Regions from separate parts of the Homo sapiens genome. Here all the other regions are linked to region 2. Evidence: promoter capture Hi-C in human tissues and cell types (Jung and others, 2019). All regions are on one chromosome and are shown on one strand. The core of a region is centred on a gene start or on the middle of the fragment in contact, and the rest is flanking DNA. Distances in the headings are between cores, read along the strand shown.

What was found. Contacts are between HindIII fragments. The study calls those that stand out against the background at their distance.
Region 1: a contact is called between the fragment with the promoter of EFEMP2 here and the fragment with the promoter of YIF1A in region 2, in 1 of the 25 tissues and cell types used here (spleen).
Region 3: a fragment that was not itself captured here is called in contact with the fragment with the promoter of YIF1A in region 2 in 1 of the 25 tissues and cell types used here (hippocampus).

What each region holds. Positions count from the first base shown.
Region 1 is chr11:65,871,493-65,874,284 of GRCh38, reverse strand. It overlaps EFEMP2 (EGF containing fibulin extracellular matrix protein 2), which reads left to right and starts at 1,485. Exons shown (of 11, transcript NM_016938.5): 1 at 1,485-1,602; 2 at 1,924-2,041; 3 at 2,267-2,315. The coding sequence starts at 1,931. RefSeq lists a silencer at 423-482. The HindIII fragment of the contact is 15,058 bases long and covers 1-2,792 here.
Region 2 is chr11:66,287,789-66,290,605 of GRCh38, reverse strand. It overlaps YIF1A (Yip1 interacting factor homolog A, membrane trafficking protein), which reads left to right and starts at 1,463. Exons shown (of 8, transcript NM_020470.3): 1 at 1,463-1,651; 2 at 2,314-2,525; 3 at 2,690-2,794. The coding sequence starts at 1,621. RefSeq lists enhancers at 1,147-1,286, 1,154-1,448 and a silencer at 1,387-1,846. The HindIII fragment of the contact is 5,849 bases long and covers 1-2,817 here.
Region 3 is chr11:66,624,070-66,626,981 of GRCh38, reverse strand. All of the region lies in intron 1 of RBM14-RBM4 (RBM14-RBM4 readthrough), which reads right to left. RBM14 (RNA binding motif protein 14) reads right to left here. Exons shown (of 3, transcript NM_006328.4): 2 at 1,304-2,768; 3 at 1-521. The coding sequence ends at 314. Among named protein-coding and RNA genes, the nearest start is that of RBM14-RBM4, 8.9 kb to the right of the region's middle. The HindIII fragment of the contact is 7,128 bases long and covers 1-2,912 here.

The sequences.
Region 1 (2,792 bases), core at 236-2,735, 420 kb after region 2:
GAGCCACCGCGTCGGGCCTATTATTATTATTATTATTTTAAGATGGAGTCTCCCTCTGTCACCCATGGAGTGCAGCAGTGTGATCTGGGCTCTCTGCAACCTCCACCTCCCGAGTTCAGGTGATTCTCCTGCCTCAGGCTCCTGAGTAGCTGCGACTACAGGCACGCGCCACCACGCCTGGCTAATTTTTATATTTTTAGTAGAGACGGGGTTTCACCATGTTGTCCAGACTGGTCTCGAACTCCTGACCTCAGGTGATCCACCTGCCTCGGCCTCTCAAAGTGCTGGGATTACAGGCTTGAGCCACCGCGTCCGGCCCCTAAAGAGCTATTATTTAACCTTCTGCCCCAGCAGCTGGGAGGGATGGTGGTGGCAGAGTGGCGAGGAGCGGGCACTGCGCAGTTCACCTGAGCCCCAGGCGCTCGCCGCGGGACCCACCAGCACGTCCCCTCCTCGGCAGACTCCCTCCCCGGGGTCACGTGGAGGGCGACTGCGGGGATAAGCAGGGATGGCAAGGGGAAAGGAAGGGCGGGCCCCAGGCGGGGGATCCCCGGACACGCAGTGCTTTCCCGCCTGGCCCCGCCCAAAGACGTGGGCAAACAGAGGCCACGCCCTTCCTGGGAGCCAGCCCCGCCCATACTCCGCCCCAAGGACACGCCCCCACTTCGGGCGGAGGCGGAAACCGGGCGGGGGACGCTGGTGCGAGGAGGTCGAGGAGGCGCCTTGGCACCCGACTCTGGCATCCCGCACGTCCGACATCAGCCCTGCCCTCCTTCTCAGGGGCTTCCATTCATTTTGTGCCAAAAGGGAACTGCCGCCCTCGCCCCCAAACTTGTAGCTTTGTGGATGGAGGGTGTGGGGGAGGCCGTGTGTAGTGAAAGGACCACCCGGCTGAAGACGGTCCTGGGGGTGGAGGGCAGGAGGGAGCGAGAAGGACAGTTCTGCTCCTGGGAGCCTCTCGTTCCTGGGCGAGGGTCTGGGGACCCTGGATGAAGTTTTAGGATCTTTTACAATGACGGTCTGGGGCAGAGAATAAAATTTTGCAGGGAGCAGATTGAGGGTCTGGAGGACTGGGTTAGGTGGGCTCTAGGTACCCAGGACGATCTCGGGAGGCGCACAATGAGAATCTGGGGGCTCCAGGATTACGGTGTGGGTGCACAGGATGAAATTCTGGGGGCGCAGATTAGGTAGGACCTAGGTGAGCAGGATGACATTTTTGGTGAGCGTCTGGGGGCCCCCGGGTGAGTCTGGGGGCCTGGCATCAAGGTCGGGGCCCCAGGATCGAGCACTGGGGGACCCTGGTCCGGCGCCGGGAGGCGGCTCCTGGCGGCGCCGCGGGGGACCGGGTAGGGGCCTGTGGCTGGCCGGGGGCGGAGAAGCGGGGGGTCGGGGTCCCTCCCCCTGGCGCTGGCTCAGGAATCCGCCGAAGGGCGGGCGGAGGCGCCGGGGTGGGCCGCGCCGCGGCAGGCGGGCGGGCGGGGGGCGCTTCCTGGGGCCGCGCGTCCAGGGAGCTGTGCCGTCCGCCCGTCCGTCTGCCCGCAGGCATTGCCCGAGCCAGCCGAGCCGCCAGAGCCGCGGGCCGCGGGGGTGTCGCGGGCCCAAGTGAGTGGCTGTGACCGTCCGTGGGGGAGGGCGTGGGCCGGAGTCTCGGCCGAGTCCGCGGCAGCGTAGCGCCCACAGAGGCCCGCGCTCCTCGGCCTTCGCCGCAGGGGCGCGGGGCGGGGGCGGGGTGGCCGGGGCGGGTGGGCCTGGGACCCGGGCCTGGGACCTGGGCCTGTGAGGAGTCGGCCCCCAGCCCTGGGAGGCCCCGAGGCCCAAGCACGGTCCTGAGCGGGCAGTGGCGGGGGCTGGGCTCGGGCTCCCGGTACAGGGAGTTGAGGTGCCGCGGGCAGAGGCCCCTGACCCGTGTCCACCATCTCGCAGCCCCAGGATGCTCCCCTGCGCCTCCTGCCTACCCGGGTCTCTACTGCTCTGGGCGCTGCTACTGTTGCTCTTGGGATCAGCTTCTCCTCAGGATTCTGAAGAGCCCGACAGCTACACGGTGGGGACAGTGAGGGCCGCTGGCCTGGGACAGGAAGGGTAGGGAGGAAGAGACCGGGACCCAGGGTGACTGCTGCCGGGGAAGTCTTCCTCCCCTGGCTGGTGGAGAGCTGGGGGCCATTGTTTGGAGCAGGCCGGAGGGTGGCCAGGCTCAGGCCCTAGTCTTGGCCTGGCCAGTTGGAGGAGATCTTAGGGTGACCACTGGCCACTTCTGGTTCCCTTCCAGGAATGCACAGATGGCTATGAGTGGGACCCAGACAGCCAGCACTGCCGGGGTGTGTGTGCCTGGGGGACCAAACACCCCCAGGAACCCGGAAAGGGATTGATAGCTGCTTTCCAAGGGACAGCCCCACCTCCAAGAACTGCCGTGGGAGCCCAGCAGCCCGTTCTATGCCCAGCTCTGCTACACAGAGGCCAGCTCTGGCTCTCTGGAGGCCAGTTGAGCTAGGGGTGGCCTCATCCTCTCCCAGAAACCCAGGAAACCTTGTCCCTACCCCTCAGAGGAGCTGGATCCTGTACGCCTTCTCTGAACCACTCTCCTGTCCCAGCTCTTTGTCTCATCACAACCTGGGAGGGTAGCGTCCCCAGGGGTGGGTAAGGAGGCCCCCCATCTTGGGCTGAGCTAGGGCTAGGGCCGTGGGGAGGGATAGAGACCCACTTGCAGGCCGAGAATGAGGGCAACAGTGGGAACAGCTGCCCCATCTCCAGCCTTGGCCAACCCTGGGGAGGGGTCCTGAGCAGGCAGACTTAGC
Region 2 (2,817 bases), core at 214-2,713:
AATTTCTTGGACACAGATGTTTATTGGGTGTCTTCCATATGCAAGTATTGTGCTTGGCACTGGGAAGACAAGGGTGGAAGTGGAGAATGACAACAGGGCCTGTCCTCATGGAACTTACATGCAGGGCAAATTGGGTGCACCCAGAGGGGGCCTAGAACCCAACCTATGACCTCCACCCCTGACCGGGTCAGGTCTCTGTCCCCTTTGTCCCTCTGAGAGGCACGAGATGAACTAACTCTTAAAGATAACTAGGCTTATGGACAAGTGGATATGAGGGGGAAGGGCATCCCAGGTGGAGGGGACCTCTGGGCAATGGCACTGCAATCAGACCACGTGGGCTGAGTTTGGGGAGCAGGAAGGTCATCTGGTGTAACTGGATACCTGGTAGCTAATTAGAGAGGTCGCAGAGAACCTGCTCATGCTCTCTAGAAAGCGGTGGCTGAAGGTCTGTGAGAGGGAGGCCCCTGAAGACTGTCTCCGCGGGGTTGGGAGTGATCAGAACCTGGGTGGAGAGAAAGGAACCCCCGGGACTACAAGTGAGGCTTAGGGGCCTCACTTCAAGAAGACCACAGGCCCGGCGATGACTCAGGAGTTTAGGCTGCAGCTTCAGGACGCAAATCAGCACACCTCTGCCCCCAAATCTGCTGGACTACGGGAGAGTCTATGGGACAGGCCCGGGGCAGGATCCTGCCCCACCTATACCACCCAATCTCTCAGACTTCGGATCCTCTGGGCCCCAGTTTTGCAGTATGCGTGTATGTGTGCGTGCGGCCACGCGCTCGCTAGGAGCGTGTGGTTCGAGACCCCAAATCTTCCCATACGCAGGCCCCCGGGAGTCTACAGGATGGCGGCTGAGGCGGGAGGACATTTTCAGCACCGGACGACGGACAGCACCCGCGCGGAGAAGAGGAGTGGGAGGCGGGTGGAGTCAGCATCCTGGGGCTTGCTTGGCAGCTCTGTCACTGATAGGTCCGGCCTCCCACCACCACCTCCGGGTCTGCCGGGGCTCCGTTCCAAGATTGGGTGAAGTGTAGGTGACGGGGGAGGAAAACAAGCCCAGAGAGGGAGAAACAGGCGCCCCGAAGGGCAGGGCTTGGTTGGAACTCGACCGCCCCGTTCCCTCCTGGAGTACGTCCCACCAAGGAAGCTTTGCTCCTGACTCCGGCTGCAGGTTACCTCTCGACTCCCTGGTGTAGTCGTGGCAGGGTGCGTCAAGTGCCTCACCGCGCAGGCGCGCAAATAATTCTCGCCCACCTTCTTTCTTAACTCTTCTATTGGCTGTTCCCACCGTGAACTGGCAAGCCCGTGATCCAATCCCAGGCACCGCAAGTCGCTCCGCCTGTCCCTCACCCGGATGTTGCCTTCTGCCGAATCCGCTCAGGCCAGAGCTCGTCAGTGGCCAATTGGGAGAGGGGAGGGGCGAGCCGGCGCCGCCGAAGAGCCAATGGCAGGCGCGGGGGATGACGCCACGGACATGGTGGCCGAGACCGGCGGGGTGGGGGACGTGTCGCGCGGCCGGGTGGCCTCGGTCGGTACCCTGGGCGCGGAGCAGCTGCCTCATTAGTATTCGTACCCACGAGGCGGCGCAGCGGGCCCTCGGGGACAGCGAGCGTCGCGGCCATGGCTTATCACTCGGGCTACGGAGCCCACGGTGCGTGGGGCGCGGGCGGGGCGCGGCGCGGCCGGCGGGGGGAGAGTCGGCGGCGTGGCCCGCTCACCCCGAGGGAGATAGCGACTGGGACCGCCGCCCAGGGCGGGGGTGTCACTCGGGTTCCTGCCCCTCGTAACACTCCAACACGTCCCGGACTTCGCCCTCTCGGCCCAGTCCTGGGAATCCCATGCCGGAGTCGGGCAAAAACGGGGTCCGCCTCCTCCTCCAGAAACTCCTTTGACTGTTGTGAACCTGATGAGGTCCCTGATCACTGTCCAGGGCCTCCAGGTAGCCAGCTGTCGCCTCTCCCAGCTTTGTTCACGGAAGGATGCCCTCCCAGTTATTTTCACCTAGCACACTTCTACTCACTGTGGCTCAGTTCAGAGGTCACTTCCAGTGAGAGGCCTTCAGAAACCCCAAGTGGGCAACCAGTTCTAGGCGCTGCCTCAGCTCTTTCTTTGCCTACATTTAGCAACGGATTTCTCGCAAAGGATCCCTCATCACAGTTTTTTCTCAGTTAGCTCCCCCTCACCCAGCTTGGGGTCCCCTCACTGATCGGTGCCTCCAGGACCCGTGCAGGGCTGTCCAGCCAGGGAAGGGGCGGTGGTTTGGGCTCATGCTTGGTATTTCTGTCATCTACTCTGATACCTCCAAACCCACAGGCTCCAAGCACAGGGCCCGGGCAGCCCCGGATCCCCCTCCCCTCTTCGATGACACAAGCGGTGGTTATTCCAGCCAGCCCGGGGGATACCCAGCCACAGGAGCAGACGTGGCCTTCAGTGTCAACCACTTGCTTGGGGACCCAATGGCCAATGTGGCTATGGCCTATGGCAGCTCCATCGCATCCCATGGGAAGGACATGGTGCACAAGGAGGTGTGGCCTGCCCCCGGGGCACGGGTGGCAGAATTTTTGGCTAGGGCTGGGGCATCATGGGATTCCACCCGATTCCTCACAGTGCCCTCAGGGATGGAGCACACAGAGGGGCACCCTGAGGCCTGGGGTGCGGCTTGCCCACAGCTTCCTCTCTCCCCTCCCAGCTGCACCGTTTTGTGTCTGTGAGCAAACTCAAGTATTTTTTTGCTGTGGACACAGCCTACGTGGCCAAGAAGCTAGGGCTGCTGGTCTTCCCCTACACACACCAGGTGAGCTTCCTACCAAGGGAGCT
Region 3 (2,912 bases), core at 97-2,596, 340 kb before region 2:
CACAAAAATAAAAGGGAGCCAGGAAAAAAATAAAAACATAAAAGAAATTCCCATTCTGGGGAGACGGGAGGCAGGGTAGAGGGGAAACCGCAGATCTAGAGCCAGTAGCAAGATTTGCTGCTGAGGCGAAGGAACAAAGTAGGTTACTGCCGAACACTTAACAGGATCATCTCCTGGGGAAGGCCCACATGGTAGAGGGCATGAAAAACCACAACCAGGAAAGGTATGGGCCAGAGTAGTTATAACCTGGATCTGTAACCCTACCCACCTCTTTTCTCCCTCCCTCCCTGTGGTGCCCCATCCCAGGATGGCCCTACATGCGGCGCTGGTAGCCAGAGTGCATCTGAGCCGCCCGCAGGTAATCATTATAGGAGCCCGAATAGCGTGCGTAATCGGAATGGGCATCGGGCAGGCGACGGTAATCCAGCGAGGACTTTGTCGGCGAGCGGCGGAACGAAAGCTGCGACTCTGATAAACGGCGGTAATCAGAGAGCTCGGCTAAACGCCGGTCGGAACCATACCTAGTCGAGAGAAGAAGACAGTTGGTGAATGAGACAATTGAGGGGAGGACTCCAGGTGGGCATTGGGGAGATGCCAATGGGGACAGGGAGGGTGTGATCACAGTGGTCTCCAAGAGATTGGTCTCCTTTTGTCAGAAGGCTCATCACCCTATCCAGGCCAAAAAAATCAAGCCTGGCTTCAACTCAGTGGGAAATCAAACCCTCCACTGAAGTCCTCCCCTCTGAACTAGCCAAGGTGGATTTTGGTCTACATTCCCACACCACAGCAAACTATCTCCGCCCCTGGGCCCTGCAGAGAAAGACCTTGGTTGTTTATCAACAGAACGGCGGATGAAAGCGAGGTCCCCAACTTCCCAGAGTGGACGCACCTCGTAAACTTGCCTTTAGCCAGTGAATGCCAAAGGGACTACTCTTTAACCCACATCCCTGCCAAAGCCAGGACAACCACGTAATAGGCTTAAGGATCCTTGAGACAGTGGGAAAGGATATGGGCCACAGTCCTGCAGGCAGTAGCTCCAATGACACTTGGGCTAGCCTAGACAGGTGACACTGTGCCTGGCCTGACTAGCAGGTACCACCCCAGGCTGAGCACTATGCTCCACCTGAACCCTGGTGACCAGGAAAGTTCATAGACACTGCTCCCCTCGGCCTCTGGACATCCCACAAAAATAGAGAAGAGAAGACCGAGGGAGGGGCCGATGCCTCCAGTTTCCCTCCCATGCCAACCTCAGCCCCTTGCCCTAAGCCCCAGCTGGGGGCAGAGGCGGGGGGGCATACAGTACCTTTTCGACATGGCGACAGCCTTTTTGTAGGGATCGTCGTAGCTGGCCCGGGGTGGGGAGAGGCGGGTACGCTCATAGGGCGGCGGGGTGCTGTTGGCGTTGGCAACGGCCCCCTGGGACATGGACAGGTAGGCTGCAGACGGCTGACCTGCCCCATCGTAGGCATTGCCTGGCTGGCCGCGGTAGGAGGCAGCAGCCTGGGGATGCTGCTGGGCAGCATAGGAAGCAGCCAATGAGGCTGATGACTGAGTGCGGTAAGGAGCTGCCAGGGTGGCAGAAGGTTGGGCCCCGTAGGCTGCTGCGGCACCATAGGAGCCAGTGGCCGCAGCAGCCGACTGAGCCCCATAGGAGCCTGAAAGGCCCATTGATGCTTGGGCCCCGTAACTATTCAGCTGGGTCTGCACAACCGGCTGGGCCCCATAGGAGCCAGCCATTGGGGTAGTGGCTTGTGCGGCGTAGGCTGCTGGCTGGCTGGCATAGGCAGCAGCTGTGGCTGGCTGTGCCACATAGGCAGCAGGTTGGGAAGAGTAGGAAGCAGCCTGCTGTGCAGCATATGGGGCAGACTGGGCATTGTAAGAGGCCGAGGGCTGGGCATTATATGAAGCTGCCTGGGCTCCATAAGCTAGTGAGGAGGCTGCAGACTGGGCCCCATAGGAGGCTGCCTGAGCCCCGTAGGAGCCTAAGGAGGAAGCTGCTCCCTGGGTGTTGTAGGAAGAAGCAGCTGCACGAACCCCATAGGAAGAGGCAGCCTGGGCGCCGTAAGAGGATGGCTGGTTACCATAGGAGGCAAGGGAGGAACCCTGAGCCCCATAGGAGTTGAGCGAAGAAGCTGCAGCTGCCTGACCCCCATAGGAGGAAAGGGCCGAGGCTGAGGGCTGGGCTCCACCATATGGGCCGAGTGAAGAAGCTGCAGCAGACTGGGAGCTAGGACTAGCCAGCTGGCCCCTGTATGGTGCCCCAAGGGAGACAGAGGGCTGAGCGCGGTAAGAGGCTGCCTGGGCTGTCATGGGCTGAGTCCGATAGCCAACACCCAAAGAGGCAGAAGGCTGGGCCCTGTAGGCAGCTCCCAGTGACACGGACGGCTGGGCCCGGTAGGTAGCTGGCTGGGCCGTCAGAGGAGCCACATAAGAGGCTCGGGGAGGTGAACGGCGCAGAGGGCTGCGGTCGCGACCAAAGAAGGGTGGTGTGGGCTGACGGGCTTGCCCATCAAAGCCACCAGTGCTGTTGCCAAAAGCCTGCTGGTAGTCGAAGGTGGCAGAGAAGCCACCAGTTCCAGGGAAGGCCGTATCCCCAGCCCCTGGTTTCTTGGTCTTGTCCCCAGACTGGACAGCCAGGCCAGGCCCCTTCTTCTGACCCTTGGTGGAGAGTTCCACGTTGATGCGCTTGCCCTTCACTTCTTTGCCGTTGAGCTGCGCGATTGCGGCTTTGGCATCTGCTTCCTTCTCCATGTGAACAAACGCGTAGTCTGATAAAGCAGCAGACAGAGGGTTAGCAATTAGGGGGGCAGGGCATGCTACCTGATGGGTCCCAAATTGGACACACAACAGCACCCAGCTGTTGCCAGCTACCTCCAAGGCCTCCAAACCCTCCTCTCCAGGAGTATGTCATA